Linked DNA regions of Homo sapiens: regions 2, 3, 4, 5, 6 and 7 are each linked to region 1. Evidence: promoter capture Hi-C in human tissues and cell types (Jung and others, 2019). All regions are on one chromosome and are shown on one strand. The core of a region is centred on a gene start or on the middle of the fragment in contact, and the rest is flanking DNA. Distances in the headings are between cores, read along the strand shown.

Evidence for each region. The method cuts DNA at HindIII sites, captures the fragments that hold promoters and counts their contacts. A contact is called where the count stands out against the background at its distance.
Region 2: a fragment that was not itself captured here is called in contact with the fragment with the promoter of HMOX1 in region 1 in 5 of the 25 tissues and cell types used here (dorsolateral prefrontal cortex, heart left ventricle, hippocampus and 2 more).
Region 3: the fragment with the promoter of APOL4 here is called in contact with the fragment with the promoter of HMOX1 in region 1 in 3 of the 25 tissues and cell types used here (dorsolateral prefrontal cortex, mesendoderm cells and small bowel).
Region 4: a contact is called between a fragment that was not itself captured here and the fragment with the promoter of HMOX1 in region 1, in 6 of the 25 tissues and cell types used here (IMR-90 fibroblasts, dorsolateral prefrontal cortex, heart left ventricle and 3 more).
Region 5: a fragment that was not itself captured here is called in contact with the fragment with the promoter of HMOX1 in region 1 in 1 of the 25 tissues and cell types used here (dorsolateral prefrontal cortex).
Region 6: a contact is called between a fragment that was not itself captured here and the fragment with the promoter of HMOX1 in region 1, in 3 of the 25 tissues and cell types used here (aorta, bladder and dorsolateral prefrontal cortex).
Region 7: a fragment that was not itself captured here is called in contact with the fragment with the promoter of HMOX1 in region 1 in 2 of the 25 tissues and cell types used here (H1 embryonic stem cells and mesenchymal stem cells).

The regions. Positions count from the first base shown.
Region 1 is chr22:35,378,884-35,383,065 of GRCh38, forward strand. HMOX1 (heme oxygenase 1) reads left to right here and starts at 2,213. Exons shown (of 5, transcript NM_002133.3): 1 at 2,213-2,313. The coding sequence starts at 2,291. RefSeq lists silencers at 1,934-2,013, 2,314-2,483. The HindIII fragment of the contact is 25,740 bases long and covers 1-4,182 here.
Region 2 is chr22:36,246,833-36,251,014 of GRCh38, forward strand. No RefSeq gene overlaps it. Among named protein-coding and RNA genes, the nearest start is that of APOL1, 4.2 kb to the right of the region's middle. The HindIII fragment of the contact is 5,646 bases long and covers 1-4,182 here.
Region 3 is chr22:36,199,467-36,203,648 of GRCh38, forward strand. It overlaps APOL4 (apolipoprotein L4), which reads right to left and starts at 2,343. Exons shown (of 4, transcript NM_001386885.1): 1 at 2,234-2,343. The coding sequence starts at 2,268. RefSeq lists an enhancer at 2,319-2,818. The HindIII fragment of the contact is 28,208 bases long and covers 1-4,182 here.
Region 4 is chr22:36,142,343-36,146,524 of GRCh38, forward strand. It overlaps APOL3 (apolipoprotein L3), which reads right to left. Exons shown (of 4, transcript NM_145639.2): 3 at 3,131-3,257. Among named protein-coding and RNA genes, the nearest start is that of APOL3, 16 kb to the right of the region's middle. The HindIII fragment of the contact is 7,006 bases long and covers 1-4,182 here.
Region 5 is chr22:36,120,367-36,124,548 of GRCh38, forward strand. No RefSeq gene overlaps it. Among named protein-coding and RNA genes, the nearest start is that of APOL3, 38 kb to the right of the region's middle. RefSeq lists an enhancer at 3,635-3,929 and a silencer at 3,870-3,939. The HindIII fragment of the contact is 9,372 bases long and covers 1-4,182 here.
Region 6 is chr22:36,074,351-36,078,532 of GRCh38, forward strand. No RefSeq gene overlaps it. Among named protein-coding and RNA genes, the nearest start is that of RBFOX2, 48 kb to the left of the region's middle. The HindIII fragment of the contact is 4,053 bases long and covers 1-3,872 here.
Region 7 is chr22:35,977,270-35,981,451 of GRCh38, forward strand. All of the region lies in intron 1 of RBFOX2 (RNA binding fox-1 homolog 2), which reads right to left. Among named protein-coding and RNA genes, the nearest start is that of RBFOX2, 49 kb to the right of the region's middle. The HindIII fragment of the contact is 4,397 bases long and covers 1-4,127 here.

The sequences.
Region 1 (4,182 bases), core at 963-3,462:
GACAAGCACAGGGAGAGACGCTCTCTGGAATTTCCTTATCTGACCAAGAACACTTCTTTACAAAAGAAATGCAATTGTGTTAAGTCTTTTTTTCCTTTGAGACAGAGTCTCGCTCTTGTCACCCAGGCTGGAGTGCAGTGGCACTATCTTGGCTCACTGCAACCTCCTCCTCCTCCCGGGTTCAAGCGATTCTCCTGCCTCAGCCTCCCAAAGTGCTGGGATTACAGGTGTGAGCCACCGCGCCCGGCCAGTGTTAAGCCCTTTTTCTAGTAATCTCATCAAATATCCAGGAAAGATCAACCACTGGAGAGAGAAAGAGACTGGGAGTCATCACCAGACCCAGACAGATTTACCTGTTCTTCTGAGGACAGTGCCAAGAGATTACCTGGGGGACTTTATCTGCCTAGGACAACCTTTGTCCCTGTGCGGCTCCACCTCCACCTTCCCTTAAAGTCGGCCTTTCACCTCCAGGGCCATTCCTTCTTGCTAATGATTTACTGTCTTTCAAAAGAATTGTCTGCATTCCCTATCTCCCTTCTCCCCTATAAAAAAGGCTGGGTAGCCTCTGTACTCCACTGGGTTACAGGGTCACCATTCTTCCGTGATTACCCCATTACAATACATTTTTGTATGTCTTTTCTCCTCTTAACCTGACTTTTGTCGGTTGGTTTTCGGGGAACCTTCAGAGGAAGAAGGGGAATTTTTTTCAAGGCCCCTTAGCTCACCCTTGGGAGGATGATCCTTTCCAATACAATCTCAGAAGTGCCTCTGGGCTGTAGTGGCCCTAGGCTGAATTCCAGGAAGTTTTTTTTTTTTTTTTTTGTTTTTTTTTTTTTTTGAGGGACAGCGTCTTGTTCTGTTGCCCAGGTTAGAATACAGTAGCGTGGTCACAGCTCACTCCAGCCTCTACATCCCAGGCTCAAGTGAACCTCCAGCCTCAGCCTCCCAAGTAGCTGGGACCACAGGCATGTGCCACCATGCCCAGCTAATTTATTTTATATTTTGTAGAGACAGGGTCTCCCTATGTTGCCCAGGCCAGTCTCGAACTCAAAGCAATCTTCCCACCTCGACTGGGCTCAAAGCGCTCTTCCCACCTCAACCTCCCAAAGTACTGGGACTACAGGTGTGAGCTACCATGCCAGGCCTGAAAGCCATCTTAAAAAAAAAATCTTAGAATGAGAATCACAGTATTGGGAAAGGACTGTATGAATCATCTGGTCCATTCGTTTTGTCCTCTGGGTTCACCCAGTGACCCTATTTCCCCCGAGTTCTAAGGAGTCCACCTCATGCAGAATTGATTCAATAGGCGATCAGCAAGGGCCAGCTCTGCTCTGGGCCCTGAGCAGGCACTGAGTATAAGTCAGACCTGAATGTGCCTGGAAGAGTGTCCCACGCATTCCAGCAGGGAAGCAGTTTGTATGACAGGTGTCCCAGTCCAGGCGGATACCAGGTGCTGCCAGAGTGTGGAGGAGGCAGGCGGGGACTTAGTCTCCTCCCTGGGTTTGGACACTGGCATCCTGCTTTATGTGTGACACCACTGCACCCCTCTGAGCCTCGGTTTCCCCATCTGTAAAATAGAAGCGATCTACCCTCACAGGTCAGTTGTAGGGATGAACCATGAAAATACTAGAGTCTCTGTTTTTTGACAGGAACTCAAAAAACAGATCCTAAATGTACATTTAAAGAGGGTGTGAGGAGGCAAGCAGTCAGCAGAGGATTCCAGCAGGTGACATTTTAGGGAGCTGGAGACAGCAGAGCCTGGGGTTGCTAAGTTCCTGATGTTGCCCACCAGGCTATTGCTCTGAGCAGCGCTGCCTCCCAGCTTTCTGGAACCTTCTGGGACGCCTGGGGTGCATCAAGTCCCAAGGGGACAGGGAGCAGAAGGGGGGGCTCTGGAAGGAGCAAAATCACACCCAGAGCCTGCAGCTTCTCAGATTTCCTTAAAGGTTTTGTGTGTGTGTGTGTGTGTGTGTGTGTGTGTATGTGTGTGTGTGTGTGTGTGTGTGTGTGTTTTCTCTAAAAGTCCTATGGCCAGACTTTGTTTCCCAAGGGTCATATGACTGCTCCTCTCCACCCCACACTGGCCCGGGGCGGGCTGGGCGCGGGCCCCTGCGGGTGTTGCAACGCCCGGCCAGAAAGTGGGCATCAGCTGTTCCGCCTGGCCCACGTGACCCGCCGAGCATAAATGTGACCGGCCGCGGCTCCGGCAGTCAACGCCTGCCTCCTCTCGAGCGTCCTCAGCGCAGCCGCCGCCCGCGGAGCCAGCACGAACGAGCCCAGCACCGGCCGGATGGAGCGTCCGCAACCCGACAGGCAAGCGCGGGGCGCGGGACGCGGGACGGGCGCCTTTCTCTCCCAACCCTGCTTGCGTCCTAGCCCCACCCCGGGACACTGCCACACAGCGACAGAGCCCAGGAGCCAGAAACTTGGGCTCTGGAGTCAGGAGGTGCGGGGTTCTGATCCTGCCTGTGCCCGTAGGGTAGTTGGAGGGAGGAACGGTAATTTACATGCCTGGCACCCTGGTATGCGGTTGGTGACCAAGATGGGAGTGTCCCTAGAGTATCCAGTCTTTGAGGTAGCCAATTTTTTTTTTAATCCTACTTTCGAGGTGTGTTTGGAGTTGCTCTCTGCTGAATCTAGATCTCTGGGGCTCTGCCAGCCTGGGGGAGCATGCTTGGTTCTCTTGGTGGCATCTGTCCCTCACTAGCTACGGAGGACCTGAGCCAGACATCACCCTGGCTGCGGTGTTCCATGTCTCACAGATAGCCCAGTTCAGGGAGGCGACATGCCCAAGAGTGCTCAGTTAGCTGGTGTCAGAACTGGGCCTTGAACCTTGGTCTGCCCACCTCCAGGTCTCACTCATTCCCTTCTTTCAATAATTTGTTAGTATTTTTTTTTTTAACTCCTGGGCTTAAGCATCCTCCCACCTCAGCCTCCAGAGTAGCTGGGACTTACAGACATGTGCCATTTCTCCTGAGACTTTGACCAGCTGTGTTGTAGAACAGGGAAGCAGGGCAGGAGAAAAGGGAAAAATGACAATTCTGTGGGGAGGCAGGGATACGGACCCATGACAGAAATACTCCCAGAAAGACTTTTTCTTTGACTAAAGCAGACTTTCTCAGGCTTTTTAACCCTGACGCCTTCATGATGAGCATAACATGATAGGGGGTCATGAGATTTGCATCTGGAACTTTAACAAAATAACTGAATTAAATATTGGGTCTAAAAGCCAATCAAAGCAATTACAAACTTGGAGATGCCGGTTCATGGGGCTGCTGCTTCTTCCTGGGTTATGCTGTACCTCCTCCTCCTCTCCACTGCGAACTACCTGTACCAGGATTTCCCCCTTGGTTTGGGGGACTGTATTATTTAGTGTTTTAATGACTGAAGAGTGTTTACAAAGCTGCGAGAGCCACCATGCCCAGCCTGAATTTGTTTTTTGTTTTTTGTTTTTTTGTTTTTTTGCTTTTTTGCTTTTCTTTTTTTGAGATGGAGTGTTGCTCTGTTGCCCAGGCTGGAGTGCAGTGGCGCGATCTCGGCTCACTGCAACCTCTGCCTCCTGGGTTCAAGCGATTCTCCTGCCTCAGCCTCCCAAGTAGTTGGGATTACAGGCGCCCACTACCATGCCCGGCTATTTTTTTTTTTTTTTTTGTATTTTTAGTAGAGATAGGGTTTCACCATGTTGGCCAGGCTGGGCTCAAACTCCTGGCCTCAGGTGATCTGCCCGCCTCAGCCTCCCAAAGTGCTAGGATTACAGGCGTGAGCCACCATGCCTGGCCCTTTTTTTCTTTTTTTTTCTTTTTTTGAGATGGAGTCTCTCTGTCACCAAGTCTGGAGTGCAGTGGTGTGATCTCAGCTCACTGCAACCTCTGCCTCCGGGATTCAAGCAATTACAGGCATAATTGCTGGGATTACAGGCACCTGCCACCATGCCCGGCTAATTTTTGTATTTTTAGTAGAGACGGGGTTTCACCATGTTTGCCAGGCTGGTCTCGAACTCCTGACCTCAGGTGATCCACCTGCCTTGGCCTCCCAAAGCGCTGGGATTACAGGCGTGAGCCACCGTGCCCAGCCACAAGGCTGCATCTTAAAGCGATTGAGAACGTGGCCTGAATGAGGATGGGAGTCTCTTGAAGGCCTGCCCACAGGTGGGAGGCTCAGCAGTTGGGAAGGACCCCACCC
Region 2 (4,182 bases), core at 461-2,960, 870 kb after region 1:
ATAGCAAGTGTGCTCAGACAGTAAGAAGGGAGGACCCTCCCTAAACTGACTCGGGGGGATTCTTGCTGAGCCAGGGTTGTGCAGGCCCAGCAAGCACGGGATGGGCATGGAAGGCCAAGGTTGGTGCCTAGAGGAGAAGAGGCTCAGAAGAGCCCAACTGGAGTCTGGTCAAACAGAAAGTCTTTCTCAACCCATGCCTTAGTGTCCAGAGTGTTTGCTGGGGCTTGACCACAGGCTGCACTCATGGCTGACCTGGAGTTTCCAGCCCCTCCCTGAGGTCTCACACCTTTAGTCCCCAGATCCTCTGGTGGTGAGAAGAGATACCCAATAGCCCCAAACCCCCATCATCCATCACATTTGCTATACTGTCCTGTAGCCAAACCACCAGGGAAACAAAGACATTCCTACCAGGCAGGGCATTCCAGGGGCCTGGAGATCACTTCGCAGGGGTAGGGGACAATGGGAAGACCTCTCCTGGGATAAAGTTAATTCTTCACTGCGCAATTGTAGTGCAGTGAAGATTCTATTCCCAGAGGCCGGGGAAGGTTTGCAATTGCTTTGGTGCAGTGGGGCATGGGTAAACTTGCACCTTAGCTATAACAGCAGACAGAACAACCATAGTACAAATACAGGTAGTCAGTTGTGCAACTGTGTATTGGTAGACACAATGACAGCACATCACCGGCTAACCCCACAATATGGGGTGACTACCTGTACAACAATGTCACCAAGCCCTTGGGTTAAGCAATGATACATGGCTGGGTTGGTAGAATAAGTCTCTGCATATGGGTGCCTACCAATCCCCATGGAGATGGAGATGGCTGTGGGCCTGTGTCACCCACCCTTGGCCTTATTTGCCATTCAACTGGACTGGCAGATGCATCTCAGGGCATCCTTAATTGCCACAGTATATAGTTCCCCATTTAGACACGACCCCCAGTAACTGGAAAACGGTAAAAGCTAGAGATTACCAGATATGTGCATACTGGTGGTTCTACCCCTTGGCCATCTTTGCCTCCAAAGTGGCAACTGTAAATGCAGAGCTGCAATTCGTGTGCTGGCTAAACACACAGCTGCAGCCTTCAATGATACTCACCATCGTTTTACACTTCCCAATCAAGAAACCACCCAGATCAGGCATGTTCCTCTGCAAAATCGTATGACCCAAAATCATACAACTGCTGCCCATGGTGGAGCTTGTGCATTAATTAAAACAAAATGTTGTGTATATAGCCCTCATTACTCTCATAACATAACACAGGCTCTGCTGACGTTAGATACCCAGAGTCCAGCCACAGAGTCTTTGTCTTATGATCTTATCACCTCATGGTTTAATCAACTCCCAGACACGTGGAGAAACTTTGTATCTAGCGTAATTGCAATTGCGTTCATAATCCTTTGTTGAGGTTAGTGTTGCTGCTGGGGTGTCTGGCTGCAATGCTCTTCCACAAAACTGGCCCCAGGAAAATCACAGAAAAACAGTGTGATGAGATTGTGAGGGCCATTCAAGGCTATGCAGGGGTGTGGAGAGCATGGTGGGCATGTCCCGTCAGACAGCAATAACTGAAGCATCCCCTAAGAATAACCCTACATTCCTTGGTGAATTTTTGCTCAGTGTTCCAAGGTATGGATCCCGGGAATGGCCAATCCAGATGTTTACATCATACTTATGAAGAACTCTGTTCCTTGGATCAGAGGTTGTGCAAGGAATCAAGACCTTTTGTTTTGGGCTAGGTGGAGGTTTCCTGGCAGAGGTGCTAAGTGGAGGTTGCTCTGGGAAGAATATCATATAACCTGCATGCATTTGACAAACAGGAGGGGATTTCTTGTCTTGCCTGCTGCTCCTGGGCAACCTGTACATAAGCTCCCTGAATAAAGCTTATGTCTCACCTGCTGTCTCCAGGTCTTTTCTTCTGTCTCTCCAAGTCTGTGTCCTGTCAGCTCATTAGCATAGGGGTCCAGCATGACAAATATAAAACGGTGTTTAACATTCTTTGGATTATGTTTATATAAATGTGTTATTAATATGTGTTCCAAAATTGTACGAGATTCTATAGGTCTAATATGTCTTGGCATATGTTATCAGAAACTATTATTATTATTATGTTAAGTAGTTGTTTGCCACAGAAATAAAGTAATTTCCTTGTCGAATGTGTCTTTACCAATGCTGTTCTCATACTTTTGTTATCTGCAAAAAGTGTTTACTTTACATCTCAAAAAACAGTTTATGATCAGCTACAGATTGTGCCATCGGACTAAGAAAAAAATAAATCTTCCAGGACTGTAATTCAAAAGTTGATGTGGTCATGAAGATTGCTAACCCAATATCAAGTGGAAGAAGGTTATTACATGGGAATGAATTAATGGAGAACAAAAATAAATTTTTAATGACTTTTTGTTTAATATACGACTGATTCTTTTGTTTTGTTTTTCTTAGTCAAGAAAACTTCTTTTTCCCTTTGGGCTCCATGTAGCTTTTAACAATTGAATAAAGTATACTCTTGTGAGCAAAATTTGAAGCATATTTCTTTCTCACTATCTGATTTCTCCAGAATTTGGAAACTATTTGTGAGTATTCTTAGTTCATGGCAATAGAGTTATTTGCATAAGTTCAGTTGGAATCTGTTTTCTTTCATAACAGGACACAACTAGAGACACTGGTTATTTTACCAAGGCTTTGACTGGCATGGCATATTTCCACATGTACGTAGGCTGCTTTGAGTAATGGTGGCTGGCTTATAGAGCCGATGAAAGCCTCTTTGAAAAATTTTCCTCAAACTTTGCCTATACAGTTCCTTTACAGGGTTCCTGTCCTGTGGTAAGTAAAGAATGTCACTTTCTGACAGGCCCAGGAAGCCCAAGTTACCTTGGGACCTTGAGGAGAAAGGAACTCACCTAATATATATAGGCATCTGCAGGCAAATATAAATCACTGGCTGAGCTTGAGATTTTAAAAGGCCTACTCTGAGATATCTTATGAAAAAGAAAATATTGTAGCAAAGTCAATTTCCAAAAGGAGCCCATATGCCAAATAAGTATTCTTGCTGCACTTTATACAAATGATCAGGCCAAGAACCATCAGACTAAAACTTCTGTTGCAAATAAATTAGCCCTACTATGATTTGTCTTTGGTAGAAATACAGGACTAGAGAGAGAAAAGGTATGTTTCAAAAGAAACTAGAGAATGCCTGTTATTGGATTCTAGCTTTCTCCATTGTTTTCTAGCCGTATTGTTTGTCCACAGTTTATCTGGACTACATACTGAATTCTTTCCTGGCCACAAGTCTCCAAACTAATATTTTGCTTTTCTTTTTCTCTCATTTTTCTGACTTGGAATCACCAGAAATCCAAACTGTGCTTTTCTTAAAGTCCTGCAAACTGAAGCTTGAAAACTGTGTTATAGTGAAGGAAGAGAAAGACCCTCTCATATTATTTTTATATTGTTTTGTACTCAGTACCTGTTTTAAGAAAAAACAACAAGGAAGTAAAACCAAAGACAGGCAGCCCGGCGCCAGGCCCGAAACCAGGCCTGGGCCCGCCTGGCCTAAACCCATTAGTTAAAAATCAACTTATGATTCAGAAGCCGATGTTATTCATAGATTCCTTACATTATGTAGAAGAACATTGTGAAACTCCCTGCCCTGTTCTGTTCCCCCCTGACGACCTGTGTATGCAGCCCCTGTCACGTACCGCCTGCTTGCTCAAATCAATCATGACCCTTTCGTGTGAAATCTTTAGTGTTGTGAGCCCTTAAAAGGGACAGAAATTGTGCACTCAGGGAGCTCGGATTTTAAGGCAGTAGCTTGCCGATGCTCCCAGCTGAATAAAGCCCTTCCTTCTACTACTCGGTGTCTGAGAGGTTTTGTCTGCAGCTCGTCCTGCTACAATAGAATTCAGACCAAACTCGTGACCAGAGACTCATTTGCTTCTACAGTGTTTTGTCCAAAAGATGTTGAAGAACGGCCAGGCGCAGTGGCTCACGCCTGTAATCCCAGCGCTTTCGGAGGCCGAGGCAGGCAGATCACAACGCCAAGAGATCGAGACCATGCTGGCCAAGATGGTGAAACGCTGTCTGTACTAAAAATACAAAAATTAGCTGGGCTTGGTGGTGCGTGCCTGTAGTCCCAGCTACTTGGGAGGCTGAGGCAGGAGAATCACTTGAACCCGGGAGGTGGAGGTTGC
Region 3 (4,182 bases), core at 1,093-3,592, 820 kb after region 1:
TGAGGTGGCAGCAAATGCCAAGACCAACCTAACCCAGATTCTTTCTCTATCACCAAGTCCCCATCATCTGCTATTTACAGACACTCAACTCATTCCAGCTCCCTCTTCCCTCACTCTCACACCAAGGAAAAGTCCGCTTGTCCTGTTGGAGAATGAGGAGAAGATAATCAGAGGAGGGGCAGCCATCTGATCATTACAGAAACTACACAGTCTATACGCAGAAATAGAGATGGGAAGGAACGTTCTAACAATGACCGGAAACATGTGTGACAACTAATTGATGATAGCCAGTCTGTATTGAGTGTCTGTGATGTGCAGGGCTTCTTTTTTTATTTTTATTTTTATTTATTTATATTTTTTGAGACGGAGTCTCGCTCTGTCGTCCAGGTGGAGTGCAGTGGCGCGATCTCGGCTCACTGCAAGCGCCGCCTCCCAGGTTCACGCCATTCTCTTGCCTCAGCCTCTCGAGTAGCTGGGACTACAGGTGCCCGTCGCCACATTCGGCTAATTTTTTGTATTTTCAGTAGAGAAGGGGTTTCACCGTGTTAGCCAGGATGGTCTCGATCTCCTGACCTCATGATCAGCCCGTCTCGGCCTCCCAAAGTGCTGGGATTACAGGCGTGAGCGGTCGCGCCGGGCCTGTGATGTGCAGGGCTTCTGACATGTGTCTCATTCAATGATCACACACAGCCCGGGAGATGGGTACCACTTTCCCATTTGAACACAGAGGAATCCACAAAAGTTAGGGAACTTGCCAGTGTTTTCTATTGCTAGAGCCAGGACTTCTGCTTCAACCTCATGTCTTCAATGACTGTGCTCTACTCCCTTAAATATACAATATTGAGTCATGTATACACGCTCATGGTAAATGACTCCTCATTGCAAATCCATGTCTCACACTCCGTGCTCAACTTTTCGTCTTGGTGAATTCACTGGTGCTGCAGTGGACAGCCTGTGTCCCCCTTGCTTCTCTAAGATCCTTTGTCCCACAAAGACCTGGATCCTGCCAGATGCCGGCCTAGCCCCTGCTGTGGCTGCCGAGCCCTCCTGGCGCTGCCCTGTTCCCTCTGCTGTCCTCCCCTAGCTGATGGACCTTAGGGTGTTTCTAATTCTTCATGTAAATTATGCTACAAAGAACACCCTCCTTCACGTAAAACTGCCCACATTTGATTTTATTTCCTTAAGATATTTGTAGGAGTAGAATGACTAGGTCAGAGGGTATCAACATCTCAAAATGTTTTATACCTAGAGCCACACTACATGCAAATTGTACCAATTCACACTCAAACTAGCAGTATATGAAGATGCCCATTCTTTCAGTCTTACTGGCTCTCAGTAGTCTCTTTATCAGGACAAAAAATATATACACAACATGTAAATTTGAGAACTAAATATCTTGTTATCAATACCAATTAGTACAAACTTTAAGGCACGAAGGTAGCAGTTGAGATGTGAAGCACTGAACAAAGGAGAAGGAGGATTAATATTGTCATTTTTTAAAGATGGAAGTTAAGAAATACTGGGTACAACTGAGGGTATAAGAAAGTTGTAAGTAAATTGTTTACAGCTACAAAGTTGCTAATGGAAGACATAAAACTGGTGATAGAATGTTAGGAAAAGGTGGAGAGGAGAGATAGAGGGAGGGTACAAATAAGATGAAAATGACTAATAATGATACTATAAATAATAACAATACCATTTCAGGCCCATCCCAGTTAGGGGCGGCTCCAAGCATTACCATTGTTCTTTTCTCACCGTGTGTCTCTGCGCACTCCCTGGCACACCCACTTCCAGCAGCTGGTCTTTGTTTGCAGACTTTATTTTAACAGCTCAGTGGTTCCCGGGCCCCCTGATGGGGTTCCATCCTCCAGCTCTCATACTAAAGCCCCCTCCTCAAAAGCCACTCGCCTCCCTCTTTCCCTTTCCTGCCTTTGTCTCAGGGTTCAGACACACAGATGTCTGTCTTCTGGGGCCCCCATGCAACAAGGGTAAAAGGGGGACCCAGTCCTGGGCAGCATTCACCAGGGGAGTATGCAGAGGGGCGTCTGGGCGCTTCTTGCTGTAAGGGACAGGGGTGACAGGAGAGGGGCATCCCTTCGCCTTCTTCCTGCTTTGTTCACTGTGTGACCCCCTAGGCCAAGGCAACCATCTCAACACCATGAGCCAGTAGAACTGGGAGGACCAGGAGAGAGCAGAGGAGCAGGAGGGCAGAGAGCTGGGGCCTCGGACTCACCCGACGCTTGTGATGAGCTGCACCCAGGATCCCATCCTCCTTGGTCATTGTTGGCCTGGCTCAGACGCTGATCTGGGGCCTCTGCTGAATGTTGAGGCTGGATACTGACTGTTAGCCTCAACTAGGACACAGTGCGTCCCCTCTAGGCGAGTCTACCAGTTGGTCAATTCCGGGAAGTGATTTTGGTTCCTAGAAAAACCCACATGGCTCCTGGCCCAGCCCAAGCCCTGCCCAATTGTGCAGCCCAGACAGGGAGCCCTCCCTCCCACCTCAGGGCTCTGAGCCAAGCTCACCAGATGCAGACGACAAAGATTTTCAGCAAAGCAGCTCCCTCCATGTCGCTGCGGGGCCTCCTCCTTGGGCAGGAAAAGAGGGGTTGAGACAGTGTGCTCCTCCTGAGAAATCACCATTTTCATTTCATTTTTAATAAACCGTTTTGCTGTGTCACCCAGGCTGCAGGGCTTTGACGCCATCCTAGCTCATTGCTGCCTAGATCTGCTGGGCTCAAGTGATCTTCCTCCTTCAACCTTCTGAGTAGCTGGGACTACAGGTGCACGCTACCATGCTGGGCTAATTTGTTAATTTTTGATTTCATAGAGACAGCATCTCCTGTGTTTCTCAGGCTGTCTTGAACTCCTGGCCTCAAGTGATCTTCCCGCCTCTGCCTCCCACAGCACTGGGATTACAGGCTTCAGCTATAGTGCTTTCTATCTTGATGGGCATCTCTTTTTGGTGAAGAAAAATCAGGCCGGGAGCGGTGGCTCACGCCTGTAATCCCAGCACTTTGGGAGGCCGAGGCAGGCAGATCACAAGGTCAGGAGATGGAGACCATCCTGGCTAACATGGTGAAACCCCATCTCTACTAAAAATACAAAAATTAGCCGAGTGTAGTGGCGGGCGCCTGTAGTCCCAGCTACTCGGGAGGCTGAGGCAGGAGAATGGTGTGAACCCGGGAGGCGGAGCTTGCAGTGAGCAGAGATTGCGCCACTGCACTCCAGCCTGGGCAACAGAGCGAGACTCCATCTCAGAAAAAAGAAAAAAAAAAAAAGAAAAAGAAAAATAAGACCACGACTCAGATTTCACAGAAATTACCCCCCTGATTTCATGGACTTTTGGCAGCTCTATCAGGTTTCTGAGAGGGGAAAATCTTAGGCTGGGAGGGGAGGTGACTTGCCCAGAGTCGCACAGCTCTTGGAGAGCAGACGGGAAGCCAACATCTGCCCTTGTGACTCTGCTATTGAAGAAAAACGGGTGATTTTAGTAATCCAACAGTGTCCAGGTTTGATTCTGCTTCTACAAACACAGAGATCTAAGCTCTCACTCCTGTAGTTACACTCACAATTCCACAGGTGGCTTTTGAATCTCATGATTACAAAGCTGGCGTCATGCCACAGGCACCATTCTGCAATGCGACCTTCTCACTCCCCTGTCTCAGCCATGTTTCCTATTGCGGGATCTGGCCAGCAGCCCCCAGTGCAACGGGGCTCTCTCTTTGCTCCTAGGCGGATCGGCAGGTTGAGAAATAATAGACACACACAAGATAGTGAAAGCTGGGTCCAGGGGGGTCACCGCCTTCTGGTCAACAATGCACTGGATATACCAGCATTTATTATTCAGTTTAGTGAGGGCGGGGGTAGGTTAGTGAGGGATTTAGGGTCATTTGATTACGAGGTGGGATGGTCACATGGGGATGAAGTAATTCTTTAACATAACATTCGTATGTAGAAGTACAGTGCATTTGTATGTAGAAGTACAGTATACAGAGATAAGAATTTACAATATAGTGTGTGCGTCAGTAATTTCTAACAGAGCCTTAAAACAGAAACACAATCTTTCCATAACCTATGATTAGCAAGATATTAATCAGCAGTAACAATTGCAACAAAAGCTGGTTACTGACAATCCATGGAAACAGGACGTGAAGCTAGATAACCGGTTAGACTAGAAAT
Region 4 (4,182 bases), core at 548-3,047, 760 kb after region 1:
AAGAGAGGTCAACATCATCCCTCCAATAGTGTGTGGAGAGGGGAAATTTTGTAGATGAACAAAGAGAAGTGGGTTCGGAGCAAAAAGACCTTCATTCAGAGGATCATAGAACAGTGAAGGATTAACTTTATTAGAAGAGAGGTCGTTCTTTTGTCTTTGGGCCCTGGGAAGGGATCTCTGGGGCCCTGGAATGTCCTGCCTGGTAGGAACATCTTTGTTTCCCTGGTGGTTTGGCTACAGCACAGTATAGCAATGTTATGGGTGATGGGTTTTGGGGCTATTACGTATCTTTTCTGCCTTCCAAAGGAACTGGGAACTAAGGGTGTTAGACCTCAGGGAGGGGCTGGGGACTCCATGTCAGCCATCAGGACAGCTTGTGATCCAGCCCCAGAAAGAGCTCTGTACATTGAGGCATAGGTTGAGAAAGACTTTCTCCTTGGCCAAACTCCAGTCAGGCTGCTCTGAGCCTTTTCTCCTCTAGGCGCTGACCTTCCATGCCCATCCCGTGCTTGCTGGGCCTGTACTGCCCCAGTTCAGCAAGAATCCCCCAAGGCAGTTAGGGAGGGTCCTCCCCACTTGCTGTCTGAGCATTCTTGCTGTCTGATCACGGTCTTCACCCGCTCCTTACCTGCCTTTAGTTGAGCAGCTTGTTAGGCCAGTTTAGCAGAAACCCCCCATTCTGGTGTCTCCAGTCAGAACTGGTCCATCTCCCACTCCTCACCCTGGTGTTGGCTGTGACTCCCCCTCTGTCTTTACTATATTGGGAGCTGGGCTCAGTCTCCCTCCCCTGTAACACAATCCTGAATAAAGGCTTCCTGATCTAATGTGATTCACAGGAATTTTTCCTTAACTGGGTGAGCTTCTCTGGTTGGCAACACCCCATGTGTTTTGTCCCACATTCACACAGGAGAACACAGCGTCCTGAGGACAACGAAGCTTCACACCTGAAACCCTCCCAGACTCTGCCCTGTGTGTCTCTTCCTTAGGCTGATTTTAATCTGTGTTCTTTCCCTGTGATAAACCACAATCGTGCAATAACAGTTATCAGTGAGTTACGTAAGTCTTTGTAGTGAATTATCAAACCTGAGTGGGGGCTTAAGAAACACCTTCAAATCTGCAACTGGTGTCAGAAGGAAGGGTGCCTTCAGACATTGCATTTTGACTAACTCTGAGTCCTTAAGCTATCAAATAAAACCTCAGACTGGAAGAGATCACCTTGCCTGGCATGTTCTCTCTTCCAATGCCACATGCCCTTTGATCTTCTGACTGAAGGCCACTGGGTCCAGCCACTGCCCCCTTTGACTGAAAAGTGAAAGGCCTGGCTATTAGTCCTGGCTGCACATGAACTCTCAAGCCACTTGACGGCCTCCTGACCTGGCACCTCCAAGCTTCAGGGTCTCACTGTCACATGTCACCAGCCAAACTAATGCCTTAGCAGGTGACAGCTTCACCTGTGTGCATGCCAATGCCATGTGCAATTTCATGGAACCTCTTATGGACTCATGAGACTTTGAAAATCATCTCTATAAATCACTAATGCTGAAAAGACCTGCATTTGGACAAGATGATAGAGAAAGTGTTTTTCTCTTTGGTTGGGGACTTGTGAGTCTCCTGAGAACCCTTCAAATTACCCAGTTGGCAGACACTTGTTCCAACTCTCCAAGCTGGCCCGAAGAAACACTTCCTCTACTCTATGTAGAACAGAAGAGGGTCCCAAATGGCAGTTCAGAATGCCCCAGTTCCCAGGCATGCTGTCAGGGAAACAGTCACCCATGGCCCACTATGCCCATCAGTGATGGGATCAAATCAGGGAGGGAAGAAATATCCCTCTCCCACTCACTGGTCCTCTGCAAGTCCATGGCCACGTTACCTTTCATGCCCTCAGTGCCTCCCTCTTCTCACCCTACTCCCAGCCTTGGTGCCCGAGCCTTCCTGCTGCTCCTCCAACCCAGGCCCACCCCTGCCCCATCCTGACCCCTGGCTCTGCCCCTGAAACGTCTCTCTGGGTCTTTGGATGGCATCATGCTACTTGGTTCCCCACCTCTGACCTGCTGTTCATTCTCAGGCTTTAACCACACGCCCATCTGATTGAACTACTATTAGCATTGGAGAGATGGCAGGTCCCAGTCTCCAAGACATAAAACAACAGCCCCAGAGCTGTGCAGGGACAGAGCCAAGATCCACCCCCAGCTCTGTCCAACTCCATTCCAGCCTCTCTGTGTTCTGTGTCAGCAGGAGGATCCTGCTGTGTTTGTGCAGTTCCTCAGAGGTGGAAGAAAAGGGCCCCGGACAGCATCTCCAGGAACACACATTGATCAGGTCAAGATTTTTCTGGCTTTTTTCAAAGAAAGTCCTGCTGGGCATCCAACTCTAAGAAAAACACTTGGTCGGGCGCAGCGGCTCATGCCTGTAATCCCAGCACCTTGGGAGGCCGAGGCGGGAGGATCACGAGGTCAGGAGATCAAGACCATCCTGGCTAACACGATGAAACCCCGTCTGTACTAAAAATACAAAAAAAAATAGCCGGATGCGGTGGCCGGAGCCTGTAGTCCCAGCTACTTGGGAGGCTGGGGCAGGAGAATGGCGTGAAACCGGGAGGCGGAGGTTGCGGTGGGCCGAGATCATGCCACTGCACTCCAGCCTGGGGGACAAGCAAGACTCTGTCTCAAAAAAAAAAAAAAAAGAAAAAAAAAGAAAAAAAAAGAAAAACACTTTTGGTCCTGGTCTCTCCCCAGCAATCTTTTTAAAAGGTAACATTAACGGAGCACCTACCATGTGTCAGTCATTATGCTAAATACTTTACATGCATTAGCTTATTTTTCTCACAATAAAGCTCAATGGATGAAGAAAGGAAGGCAGAAAGTAGTCAAGTAGCTTGCAAAGCTCCCATCACCAGTAGATGGCAGAACTGACCCTGCCCTTGTGGGCTTCCTCTCCCCTCAGCCTGAGGTCACTCACTGCCAGCGAAGGACTTGGAGGAAATATTCCTCCTGGACTGCTGAGAGGGACATTCTCAAGTTCAGCAGAGGGGGCTGCCTGGAGGAGGTGTGCCTGCCAGAGAAAACTAGCCCAGGGGAGATCAGGATGGCATAGCCGGGGCGCCCCATGGAGGTAACCCCACGGAGGTTACCTGGGCAATTCAGCCGCAGTCACGAATCTCTTCCAGGCTTCATTGTTAGTCAGCAGGATTTGCAGATGCACTGGGCTGACTCTCTCCCGGAAGTATTTGGTGGCCTCTTCAGTAAAGCGTTTCTTTTCTACTTGGAAACAAAAAGCATAAGATTGGAAGAAAGTGTGCTACAGCCTAAATGGCATTGAGAATAAGGTGGTTCGAGGTTAATCCTCCTCAACCAGCTGTCACATGGGGTATTTTTGATGGAGGCATCAGTGCTATAGACTGAGTTGTGTGCCCTCCAAATTCATATACTGAGACCCTAAACCCCAGTAACTATATTTGGAGATTGAGCCTTTAAGGAAGTCATTAATTTAAAGAGAGTCGTAAGGGTAGGGCCCTAATCCTACAGGACTGGTGTCTAGTTAAAAGAAAAAAAAGAGGCAGAAGATCTCTCTCTCTCTCCTCACCCCACCCCGCCCTCGCTGTCTCTCTTGCCTTCCAGCCCTCTCTCCCTGTCTCTCTTTCTCTCTCTCTCTCTCTCTCTCACACACTCACACACACACACACACACACACATACACCCCCCACACTGGGAAGGCCATGTGAGGACACAGCCCTGAGGCAGCCTCTGTAAGCCAGGAGCAGAGCCCTCCCCAGACATCAACCCTGCTGGCACCTTCACCTTGGAATTTTTGCCTCCAGAACTGTGAGAAAATACATCAGTTGTTGGAGCCACCCAGCCTGTGGCGTTTTACTAAGGCATCCTGAGAAGAGTGATTCACCAGGGAAGTGCCATGGTGCTTTGTGGAGGAACCGATCTATTTCAGCTGAGAATCACCAGAAAGTGAGCTTTCCACCATGCTTTCTCCCCATGTACGGGAAATATTCCAGTGATCGCTTCCTTCTGCCATGTGCCTATTGTCAAACGCTTTACACCAGTGTCTTCAAAATCTGAGTTTCGACCCATCAGTGGGTTATGAAAATAGTTCATTTTGTCAAGAGCAGCATTTTAAAAAGAAAAGAGCATTGAAAATATCAGAGTGTATTGAACACAGCAAGAGTGAGTA
Region 5 (4,182 bases), core at 467-2,966, 740 kb after region 1:
AATTTAAAAAAACAGAATGAGGCCAGGTACGGTGGTTCATGCCTGTAATCCCAGAGCTTTGGGAGACCAAGGTGGGAGGATCGATTGAGGCCAGGAGTTCAAGACCAGCCTGGCCAACCAGCAAGACCCCATCTCTACAAAAAATTAAAAAATTCAGCTGGGCATGGTGGCGTATGCCTGTAGTCCTAGCTACTGCAGAGGCTGAGGCAGGAAAATCACTTGAGACTGAGAGGTCGAGGCTGCAGTGAGCAATGATGGTGCCACTATACTCTAGCCTGGGCAACAGGGCAAGAGAATGAGGCAGACAGGAGCCCAGCCTGGCAGGAAAGGGAGGTTGTATTAGTCAGGGTTCTCCAGAGAGACAGAGCTAATAGGATAGATGTATATATGCAGGGGAGTTTATTAAGGAGTATTGACTCACACGAACACAAGGTGAAGTCCCACAACAGGCTGTTTTCAAGCTGATTAGCAAAGAAGCCAGCCAGAGTCTCAAAACCTCAAAAGTAGGGAAGCTGACAGCGCAGCTTTTAGTCTGTGGCCGGAGGCCTGAGAGCCCCTGGCAAACCACTGGTGTAAGTCCAAGAGTCCAAAAGCTGAAGAACTTGGAGTCTGATGTTCAAGGGCAGGAAGCATCCAGCACGGGAGAAAGACCATGGAAGGGAGTGAAGGCTGGAAGACTCAGCAAGTCTAGTCCTTCCAAGTTCTTCTGCCTGCTTAATTCTAGCCGTGTTGGCAGCTGATTAGATGGTGCCCACCCAGATTGAGGGTGCGTCTGCCTCTCCCAGGCCACTGATTCAAATGTTAATCTCCTTTGGCCACACCCTCACAGACACACCCAGGAACAATACTTTGCATCCTTCAATCCAATCAAGTTGACACTCAATATTAACTATCACAGAGGGCTTCCAATGCAGTGACAGTTGACATGAGTCCTCAAGGTTAGTTTGCAGGTCACAAGGGAGAGAAGGACAGGAGGCCTGAGGCAGGCAGGACAGCATGTGATAGTGGGCTGTTTGGGTCTTCCTTCCCCAAAGTCATCCTGGGATGGTGAGATCTCCGGCCATTCATTCCATTGCACAGAGGCATTCATGCAGGCTACCTCCCAACTTGTTCATAAAAATGTTAAGTGATGGACAAAATAATGTCTTTACATTTTTCTTAAACGTTTGGTTCCTGCTGCTGCTTATCTGGTAGAGAGGCTCATCAGAGGAGAAAATGAAGGAAGATTCCCTTGTCAAACATCACAACAGAGAGCAAGCATCTTTGTTCAGCCTGTCAGGATCATCTTTCACATTCAATTTAGAAAAATGGCAGATGTTAATGTTTTTCCTGTTAAGAGATAATTTCTTTTTAAAATGTTTGTTTTTTTTTTCCCCTTACTATGCCTAGTCCTGCTTTTTATATGATAACAGCCTAGGAGTGGAAAGAATGAGAGTTTGGGTGACAGAGATCCTTACATTTGAATCTCAATTCCACTTAGAGGCTATGGTCATGACTTAGAGGCTATATTAAGACCACTTAGAGGCTATGGTCATGACCTTGAGTCCGTTTCCCTGAGTTTCACTGCCTCAGACTAATCATACCGAATAGGCCAGTATTGCCAAATCCCAGTGCTAGGATGGGGATTAATGAGAAAACATTTGCCAAAAAACCTAGTATACCTTGTGTAATACCTGACACGTAGTAGGTGCTCAATAAGTGATACTCATTGATTTATTTTTTTATTTTATTTATTTTATTTTTTTGAGACCGAGTCTTACTCTGTCACCCAGGCTAGAGTGCAGAGGCGTGATTTCGACTTACTGCAACCTCTACCTCCTGGGTTCAAATGATTCTCCTGCCTGGGCCTCCCGAGTAGCTGGGATAACAGGCGTGTGCCACCACACCTGGCTAATTTTTATATTTTTAGTAAAGACAGGGTTTCACCATGTTGGCCAGGCTGGTCTTGAACTCCTGACCTCAGGTGATCCGCCTGCCTCAGCCTCCCAAAGTGCTGAGATTACAGTTGTGAGCCACCACGCCTGGTCAATAAGTGATACTCATTGTTAATAACAATTCTAGTTCATCTAAGGATTTAAAGCTGTGTACCTTTCATAGTGTTCTACAAACAGCTTCCTGATTTCCAGCAGCTTTGCTTATATCAGCCAGGATAGTCTAGGTTATGCTGCAGTAAAAAACAAGCCCCTAGGCTGGGCACGGTGGCTCACGCCTGTAATCCCAGCACTTTGGGAGGCCGAGGCGGGCGGATCACCTGAGGTCAGGAGTTTGAGACCAGCCTGACCAACGTGGTGAACCCCTGTCTCTATTAAAAATTCAAAATTAGCCGGGCATGGTGGTGCATGCCTGTAGTCCTAGCTAGTTGGGAGGCTGAGGCAGGAGAATCGCTTGAACCTGGGAGGTGGAGCTTGCAGTGAGCCAAGATCGCGCCATTGCACTCCAGCCTGGGCTACTAGAGCGAAACTCTGTCTCAAAAAACAAAACAAAACTAAACAAAACAAAAAAACAAACCAAACAAACAAACAAAAACCACCAAAAAGCAAGCCCCCGATCTCAGTGGTTCACAACAGCAAAGGCTACTTCTTGCTCACGCTACATGTCCATCATGGGGCAGGTGCCTCTCTGCTCCGGTTGTCTTCCCTCCTGGACTCAGTATCATGGAGCAACCACTTTCTGGAAGATTGCTGGTTGCCACAGTAGAGGAAAAGGGTCTTATATCAGCATTCATTGCTGTGGCTTAGAAATGACACATATTATTTCCATTCAAAACTCTTTTGTCCAGAACTGGTTACATATTCCCACCCAACCATAAGGAGACCAGGAAGAATAATCCCACTGTGCATCTGGAAAGGGGAAAAGCCAGACAAATGTGGCCAACAGCCCCAGTGACTACCACCACAGTGCTTTTGAAAACCACTGCCCAGAGCCAGAAGGATGGAGGATCAGCATGGCGGTAGGAGGAAGGGAGAAGCCAGAGGGGAATGAGGAGGAGCCGGGGTGCCTGGTATGGAGGGCCATCCATCCTTGGTCAATGTGCAGGGCTGGGGCCAGAGGAAGGCTGGGCGCCTTTCTCATCTGGACCCAGACCCAGACAGACCCCGGGGCCATTCCGTTCTGCAGGCAAACAAGCCAGTCCCGCTAGAATGTGGCAGTCACAGGCTTTCAACATGGAAGGTGGAGCTGCCTGGACGCTGTGTTTTTTTTCTGTTTGTTTTTTTGAGACGGAGTCTTGCTCTGTCACCCAGGCTGGAGTGCAGTGGCATGATCTGGGCTGATTGCGCCTCGGCAAAATCTCGGCTGACTTGCCTCCCGGGTTCAAGCGATTCTCCTGCTTCAGCCTCCCGAGTAGTTGAGATTACAGGCGCGCACCACCACGCCCGGCTAATTTCTGTATTTTTAGTACAGACGGGGTTTCATCATGTTGGCCACGCTGGTCCTGACCTCAAGCGATCCGCCCGCCCAGGCCTCCCAAAGTGCTGGGATTACAGGAATAAGCCACCGCGCCCGGCCAGACGCTGTGTTTTCCTGGCACTCCACTTCATGAGCAAAACTGTCACAGAGTAGTATTTCCCTGGCTCCACCCCTCCGGCGCTGCTGGATTCCTGAACCTATTCACTTCTTCTGAAGTGCTCTCAACTTGGCCTCCCTGGCTCCTTCCTGGTGCAGACATTTACTCTTCCTGCTCCGGCTTTGTGCCTCTGTAAAACTGCTGACGTCACCAGCAGCGGCTCCGACCGCCTGTCCTCCAAGGTCCCGGGCTGCGGCTGCGCAGCGCCGACAGCACGATGCGTGTGCCGACAGCGCCACCTCCTGGCTCTGCCGAGGCTGTTGGCAACACGCAGGGCTCGCAGTGCGCCCGCTTTTCTACTGCAGCCCTCAAAATTCAGCACGAGGCTTGGCTAGGGGAGCTTGAGTGGCTGACACTGTGGTCTGGTTAGTTTCCATTCTGACCCATGCTAGCCGTCTTTCAGATTCTAGAACTCAGTTCTTCTCCGGACCTCCCTCCCAGCCACAAGTCTTTGAATATGCGGCCTGCAGCTGGGCTCCCCTCATCCCCGCTCTTCTCCCCAACCTTCTTCATCATCCCTTGGCCGATCTTGAAGACTTAGCGGAGGCAGGGCGCAATGGCTTACGCCTGTAATCCCAGCACTTAGGGAGGCCGAGGCGGGAGCATCACTTGAGGTC
Region 6 (4,182 bases), core at 596-3,095, 700 kb after region 1:
ATAAAGGAATGGGCTGGGTGTGGTGGCTCACACCTGCAATCCCAGCACTTTGGGAGGCGGACGCGGGTGGATCACCTGAGGTCAGGCGTTCAAGACCAGCCTGGCCAACATGGTGAAAACCCGTCTCTACTAAAAATACAACACATTAGCCAGGCGTTGTGGCAGGCGCTTGTAATCCCAGCTACCTGGGAGGCTGAGGCAGGAGAATCACTTGAACCCAGGAGGCGGAGGTTGCAGTGAGCTGAAATCGTGCCATTGCACTCTAGCCTGGACAACAAGAGTGAAACCCCGTCTCAAAAAAAAAAAAAAAGGAATGATGTACTGATACAGGCTACAATGTAGATGAATTCTGAAAACATGTTCAGTGAAAGAACTCAGACACAAAATGTCACTTATTAAATGATTCCCTTTATATGTAATATCCAGAATAGGTAAATCTATATAGAGAGAATGCAGATCAGTGGTTGTTAGGGACTAAGGAGAGGGGGGAACGGGGGAGTGACCGCTCAATGGATATGGGGTCTATTTTGGGGGTGATGAAAACGTTTTGAAACCAGATAGATATTATGCTTGCATAAATAACATTGTGAATGAAAAAATACCACTGAATAGCGCATTTTTTAAAAAATTTTGAGACAAGGTCTCTGGCATGAGGTGGAGAATGCTACGAGTTTTTTGATATCATTTTATGTTAGAGCACAAATTGCACTCTGCCATCCAGCTGGGAGTGCAGTGGCGCAATCTCAGCTCACTGCAACCTCCACTCCCCCGGTTCAAGTGATCCTCCTGCTTCAGCCTCCTCAGTAGCTGGGACTACAGGTGTGTGCCACCACGCCTGGCTAAGTTTTGTATTTTTAGTAGAGATGGGGTCTCACCATGTTGGCCAGGCTGGTTTCGAACTCCTGGCCTCAAACGATCCACCCACCTTGGCCTCCCAAAGTGCTGGGATTACAGACATGAGCCACTGTGCCCCGTCTGAACAGTACATTTTGAAATGGCTAATTTTATGTTTGTGAAATTTGTCTCAATAAAAATAGAAACATACATCATGAGAGGTCATTCATGTACATCCAGTCATATTGCTTTTTTTATCTGATTTAGTGTTGTCTTCATGTCAGTCACCCTCTCCCTAGGAACTTGGTACAAGATCCTGGGCCTGGGGCTAGGGTAGAAGGCAATTTGACAGCATTCCCCAGGGCTGCCTGCAGTTCCCCCCGCCCCTCCGATCCCCCAGCAAGTGAGGAAAACTGCCCCTCCAGGAAAGCTCTTCCACCTGGTACCTGCCGAGGAGAATTACAGCATTCATTAATCAGGGCTCTTTGTGGCAAGGAACAGAAGTACCTACGGGCTGATTAAGCAGAAAAGGATGTTAGCTCACAGAATTTTGTTTCTTTTTTGAAACAGGGTCTCACTCTGTCTTCCAGGCTGGAGTGCAAAGGTGTGAGCAGGGCCAAGCAATTCTCCCACCTCAGCCTCCCGAGAAGCTGGGACTAGAGGCGTGCACCATCATACCTGGCTAGTTTTTTTTTATTTTCAGTAGAGATGGGATCTTGCTGTGTTGCCCAGGCTGGTCTCAACCTCCCGGGCTCAAGTGATCCTCCTGCCTTGGCCTCCCAACGTGCTGAGATTACAAGGGTGAGCCATTGTGCCCAGCTCACAGAATTTTTGAGGGGCTGGAGGACCTGGTTGTAGGCAAAGCTTCCAGGATCAATTCCCCCCAGATAGCCACAGAAACAGCTGTTAAGCAAGATCCCACCACTGCTGCGGGATAAGCAAAATGCTACCACTGCCGCTGCTCCTGTGAGACATTTCTGCACCCAGGATTTCACTCTAAAGCTGAGCATCCTGCCGCCACTCTCACCACACAGAGCCTCCTTCTTGAGTTCACACTTCCTTTTCCTCGTTTTGGTGGGACTTGCCTGCTTGGTGGGACTGGATCACATGTCAGTGCCCGAGCTTCAAGGAAGCCTGGGAAGCCAACATTTCTGGATTTCACCATGGGGAGATGGGGCCCACAGGGCCGGACATTTCTCAAATATAGGAAGGGGTTGAAAATGTGGTGGGTGACATGGTTTGGCTGTGTCCCCACCCAAATCTCATCTTGAATTCTCACGTATTATGAGAGGGACCTGGTGGGAGGTAATTGAATCATGGGGTCAAGTCTTTCCCGTGCTGTTCTCGTGATCTGATCGTGAATAAGTCTCATGAGATCTGACAGTTTTATAAAGAGGAGTTCCCCTGCACAAGCTCTCTCTCTCTTTGCCTGCTGCTATCCACGTAAAATGTGACTTGCTCCTCCTTGCCTTCTGCCATGATTGTGAGGCCTCCCCAGCCCTGTGGAACTGTAAGTCCATCAAACCTCTTTGTTTTTTTTGGTAAATTGCCCAGTCTCGGTTATGTCTTATTTATTTATTTATTTATTTGTTTCTTTGTTTGTTTGTTTATTTTTGAGACACAGTCTCACTCTGTCGCCAGGCTGGAGTGCAGTGGCATGATCTTGGCTCACTTCAACCTCTACCTCCCAGGTTCAAGCAATTCTCCTGCCTCAACTTCCCGAGTAGCTGGGATTACAGGCACGTGCCACCACAGCTGGCTAATTTTTGCATTTTCAGTAGAGACCGGGGTTTCGCCATGTTGGCCAGGCTGGTCTTGAACTCCTGATCTCAAGTGATCCACCCACCTCAGCCTCCCAATCGGGTATGTCTTTATCAGCAGTGTGAAAACAGACTAATACAGTGGGTGTACAGAAAATACATGATAGAGAGACAGCATTTATTATTCCTCACTTGTTGGAAGGACCCTACGCAACCCTAGCTCATTTGACAATGTCCCTCTCATTATATACCTTGGGCCTTTTGCATATAGAGACAGCCCTGGTTTTTGACTGTCCAGAACCTTTATATCTGCCCCTCCCCAAAACAGAGAGGCCTCATACATCTGTCAGTAATAAAGCCAACCCTCTCGTATTTACTGGGTAGATAAGTAACTGAGACTGAAACGCCACTGTATTCCATTTCCCTGACCACAGTGATTGATTCAGAGGGAAGCCTATGACAAAAACAGCGCCAGTCAGAATGTTCCCTGGCATTGATACAATGACTCGGGGGAAAGAGCAACTCTCTTTTGCCCTGGGGTTGTTAAACTGGAAGGAAGAAACTATTTGCAGTGGGAGAAAATTAGGTCAGCCTAGAGTGAAGCAGAGATGAGAGATGGTGAGAAAGCCAGGAAAATATGGTTTCATCTTTTGGATCTAGCTAAGCCTGAAGTCATTACATCTCTCGTTTTTAATCACACGAGCCAATAAATTCCTTTGAAAGCTTCAGTGAGTTGGAGTTGGATTTCTCTCACAACCGAGTAATCGTGATCAACCACCCTCTCCCTAATGGGAAATTTACTATGGGCCACTTTTCTATCCATTGTCTCATTTGACAGTAGATTTGAAAGTTAGGAGGGAGAGGCTAGGCGCGGTGGCTCATGCCTGTAATCCCAGCACTTTGGGAGGCTGAGGCAGGCAGATCATGAGGTCAGGAGTTAGAGACCAGCCTGGCCAACATAGTGAAACCCTGTCTCTACTAAAAGTACAAAAAATTAGCTGGGCGTGGTGGCGGGCACCTGTAATCCCAGCTACTCAGGAGGCTGAGGCAGGAAAATTGCTTGAACCCAGGATGTGGAGATTGCAGTGAGCCGAGATCGCACCATTGCACTCCAGCTTGGGCGATAGGAGTGAGACTCCATCTCAAAAAAAAAAAAAAAAGAAAAAAGAAGTTAGGAGGGAGCATTAACAATAAAAGAACTATGACTGGACACAGTGGCTCATGCCTGTAATCCCAGCACTTTGGGAGGCCAAGGTGGGTGGATCACTTGAGGTCAGGAGTTTGAGACCAGCCTGGCCAACATTGTGAAACCTTGTCTCTACTAAAAATACAAAAATTATCCGGGTGTGGTGGTGCGTTCCTGTAATTCCAGCTACTTGGGAGGCTGAGGCACGAGAATCACTGCCAGGAGGTGGAGGTTGCAGTAAGCCAAGATCCAGCCAATGCACTTCAGCCTGGGCGACAGAGCAAGACTCTGTCTCAAAAAAACAAAACAAAACAAAACAAAAATGAGCATTATTATCCTTACAGATAATAATTTGAGCTAAGAGAGATTAATTGACTAGCCCAAGGGCATACAGCTAGTTGT
Region 7 (4,182 bases), core at 679-3,178, 600 kb after region 1:
GCAGTTTCTCATACACTTAAACACTTCATATACACTTATATGACCCTGCAGCATTCCCAACCTTAGGTATTTACCCAAGAGAAATGAAGCTACTCAACAGCAAAAAAGGAATGCATTACTAATACCTAAAACAGTACAGACGAATCTCAAAAGAATTACACTAAGTGAAAGAAGCCATACTCAAAAAGCTACATAATACATGATTCCATTTATATAACATTTTAGAAATGGCAAAATCATAGGAACAGAAATCTGATCAGTGATGCCAGTGGCTGCGGATGCGAAGAGAGAACTAACTGTGAAAGAGCCTGAAGAAACTTTCTACGGTAATGGACGCATTTTATATCTTGATTGTGGTAGTGGTTACATGTCTATATTACATTTGTCAAAATTCATAGAAATGTAGCCTTAAAAGAATGAATTTTACTGCATGTAAATTATACCTGAATGAACTATATATATATATATATATATATATATATATATATATATACATGCACACACACACATATACATATGTGTATACGTATAAAATCCCCCTCAAAAAAAAAAAAAGCCCTGTCCCCCTTCCGTCACAGAGGAGTTAGCACAGCAGCCAAGGACACAGGTAGGTGAGCAGCTGAGGAATCAAGGATGCACAGGACAGCAGGCCCAGAGGCCAAAGATAAGAGTGGTTGGGGGTCAGGGGGCACTGGAAGACTACAGGTAAAGCTGGGAAACTCTAGGGAGATTAGGAAGCCACAAGGAAGAATGGGCCAAAGGAGCCCATTGACTGAGGATTCCAGAACATGAGGAGTAGGGTACAGAGGTGGTGGAGTCAGCCATCGCGGTTGGAAAACTGGCTACACTGAGCAAATAAGTAAACATATTGGGGATAAGGGGAGCCAAGTTTTTCCCTACTGGAGAATATATTTACAAATATGGAAAGAGGTTGGCTGCATTTAATGGAGTTATCAGTGTGAATTCATGATTTTATAATATAAAATGCATTGTTTTATAATTTAAAATATGTAACACACACACAAACATCATGCATGTATATATACGTATATAGCACAAAGAGATATGGAAATATAGATGTATATGTGGTATATATGTGTTTATGTACATATGTATGTACACATACACACAATTTCTAGCTGTTTGCTGAGACAGCCTAGAGGCAAGGACACTCTAGTAGCAATATGCATACCCACCACCCAGATGTTGGTTTCTAATTACTATCCTCCATTTAAAAGAACCAGAGCTTCTTGGAAATGGCTGATTCCAAGGCTTTGGTAGGAAAAGTACAAAATAAACTTGGAAAACCTTCTTGTGGCAGAAAATAAGGAAATGTCCCATGAATGATGGGGACAGGTCAAAAGGACAAAGAAACCAGCATAAAGCAGGTCCCACTGGCTAAACTTTCAAGCTCCCTCAAGCTTGAGGAGTATAATTATAGAAATGGACTACAGCCCACTGAATAAAATAGTAATCCATGAGTCCATTTGATAGAAATAAACAAATGAAAAAGGGAAAGTCTTTGTAACAGAATGACATCTAACAAATACAGGCAGACACAGAAATAGAGGACTAGCATTTGACAGAATAAAACTGGTTGGTTCAGGAAAGAGTAGTCAATAGCGCTAAGGAGGTTAGGTATATATCTGTTGAGGAACAGGATAGTAGTATAATTTCAGAATACCTTTCCACAAGACAATAATCAATTACAAAAGGAAAAATGATGAATCTGATGTGGAGAAACCTGGCAGACATCAGCTTAACCAGCTGTTCAAGGTTAACAATATTACTGACAGTGGGATGCGGGGGACAGCATTTGCCTCCAGATATGATGCAATGAGAAGAGCATAGCATCATTGCAGTGGTATTCCTGCCGAAAATGATATTACTGCTGTCATGAAGAAACAGATGGACCCAGATCTAGACTCTTCAAAATGTCAAGGACATGAAAGAAAGGTAAAGACTGAGAAACTGTTCCAGGCTGAAGAGGTCTGAGGCGACATGCAACTAAATGCAACGCATATTCCTAGACAAGATACCGGACCAAAAAGGAAAAAGACATTGCTGGGACAGCTGGCAAAATGTTAACGAAGTCTGTGGATGGATGGTCGCGTTGTACTAATATTGATTTCCTGATTTGGAGATCTCTGCCAGTTATATAGGAAAGTCCTATTTCGGGGAATACACATTGAAGTGTTTGGGAGTGAAGGAATATCACATCTGCAGCTTGCTCTCAAAAAAAGCTCAGAAAAGGCACAATGAAAAAGGGTATGTATGTACACAAACCCCACACACAAACACACAGAGTGAGCAATGAAGCAGATGCAGTGAAATATTAACAACTGGGGAATCCGAGTGAAGAAAATCCAGGAGTTTGGGGTGTTTTGTGGGTTGTTAGCTGCTCTGGTAACTTTTCTGTAATGTGAAATTATTTCAAAATAAAGAATCAATGGAGAAAAAATAATAGCCACTAACAGGAATTTAAGAGTACAATGTCTTTGATTCTCACAACGAAAGCTGATCCTAAAGCTCAGAAAGGTTAAAACGTGGTTCAACAAGTGTCAGTGCCATACTAACTCAGTCTGTCAAACTCTGGAGCCTTTAATCTACTACACCATGCTACCTCATTCGACAAATAGGTAACCATCACGTAACGAAGTATGTGCCAATATCTTTACTTATCATTGAGGATGGAAAATCAATCAGACCATCCCTGCCCTCAAGGAATTCAGGCTAACAGAGATAGCCTTTACTTATAAACTAGTAAAGGGTTACTGGCGCTATGGTTTGCCTTTACTTGTACAGGGAATGTTGGGCCTTTACTCCACCACAAATTCATTATGACCTATTAAAAGATAACATTTGAGATGTATAAAAAAAATAGACCAAAGGCCACAACGGAATATACTTAGGTCATGTAGGTAAAAGATCCTATGTGATCAACACACACACATCTCTCCAAGGCTTGAACACCCATAAATAGGAAAAAGAATGGGGGGAATCTATATGAGTATATTTGGGGATCTCCAACTATTCCTTCCCTTAGGTTTTCATCCTCAGAGATGTTCCATGTTTTGTTTAAAGAGATCATTTTCTAAGAAGTAGTGGTTGTGGTGAGATTAGAACTATTTGGCCCAATTACTAAACTGGATAATTGCCAAAAGTTCTACCCTGGTTTTCTAATGGTTTTCTACTCAAAGCAAAGGAGTAACTCTTGTGTATGAAAGAGAACAGAAGTTAAATATCTACCAAAGCACAAAGCATCAGGTTTACTTTCAAAGCCAAATTTATCCCCAAAGTAACCAGGCTTTACCATCAATTAGGTGAAAATTAAGCGGTTTTCTTCTGGTTATAAATCAATTGGGGCGGGGGTGGGGGGTGCTATGTCTCTTGGTATTGCCCTGAGTTTTGCAAGCAGCTTGCATACAGACCATACACCATTTACAAGACAAAAAAGAGGAAGACCCAATAGTAAATATGACAATCTCTGCCCTCAGAGAACTTACAGTTTAGCAGGTGGGACAGACAAATTAAAAGAAAGGACATCTTCCAGACTGGAATGGGATCGGGCTCAGGAAAGGCTTCCTTGAAAACAAAATACCATTTGGCTGAGATCTAAGGAGCAACCTGACTTTGCACGCTTATGTATTTATGTTATGTGTTTTACTTTATGGAGAATTTTCTGAGTAGAGAGGTAAAAAGAGATACAAGAAAAATGGTAAAAAAGCACAGAGGAGAAAAAGATAGCAAGTGATTCCATTCTGTTGGGACATAAATACTAAGAAAGAAGCCTTTGAAAGGCTTTTAGTAGTGGAATAATAAATTTTTAATCACCAAAACAACGTTATGGTAGTAATTATTATCTTCATTTTACTAATGAAAAAACTGAGGCTTGAGAAAAGTTAGGTAGATTGAGCAAGGTCCCACAACAAAAAATATGCAGAGCAACTGTAAAGCCCATCCTCTTTCTGTTCTATTTCCCTCAGAGTTATACACAGAATGTAGCCAGTTCCTTGGATTTCACAGACAAATCACCTTTTCCCTAGATACTCAGCCCTTGGTATTTAATGCTTTCAAAAATCCAAACATTCAGCCAGGCGTGGTGGCTCACACCAGTAATCCCAGCACTTTGGGAGGAAAGGTGGGCAGATCACTTGAGGCCAGGAGTTCGAGACCAGCCTG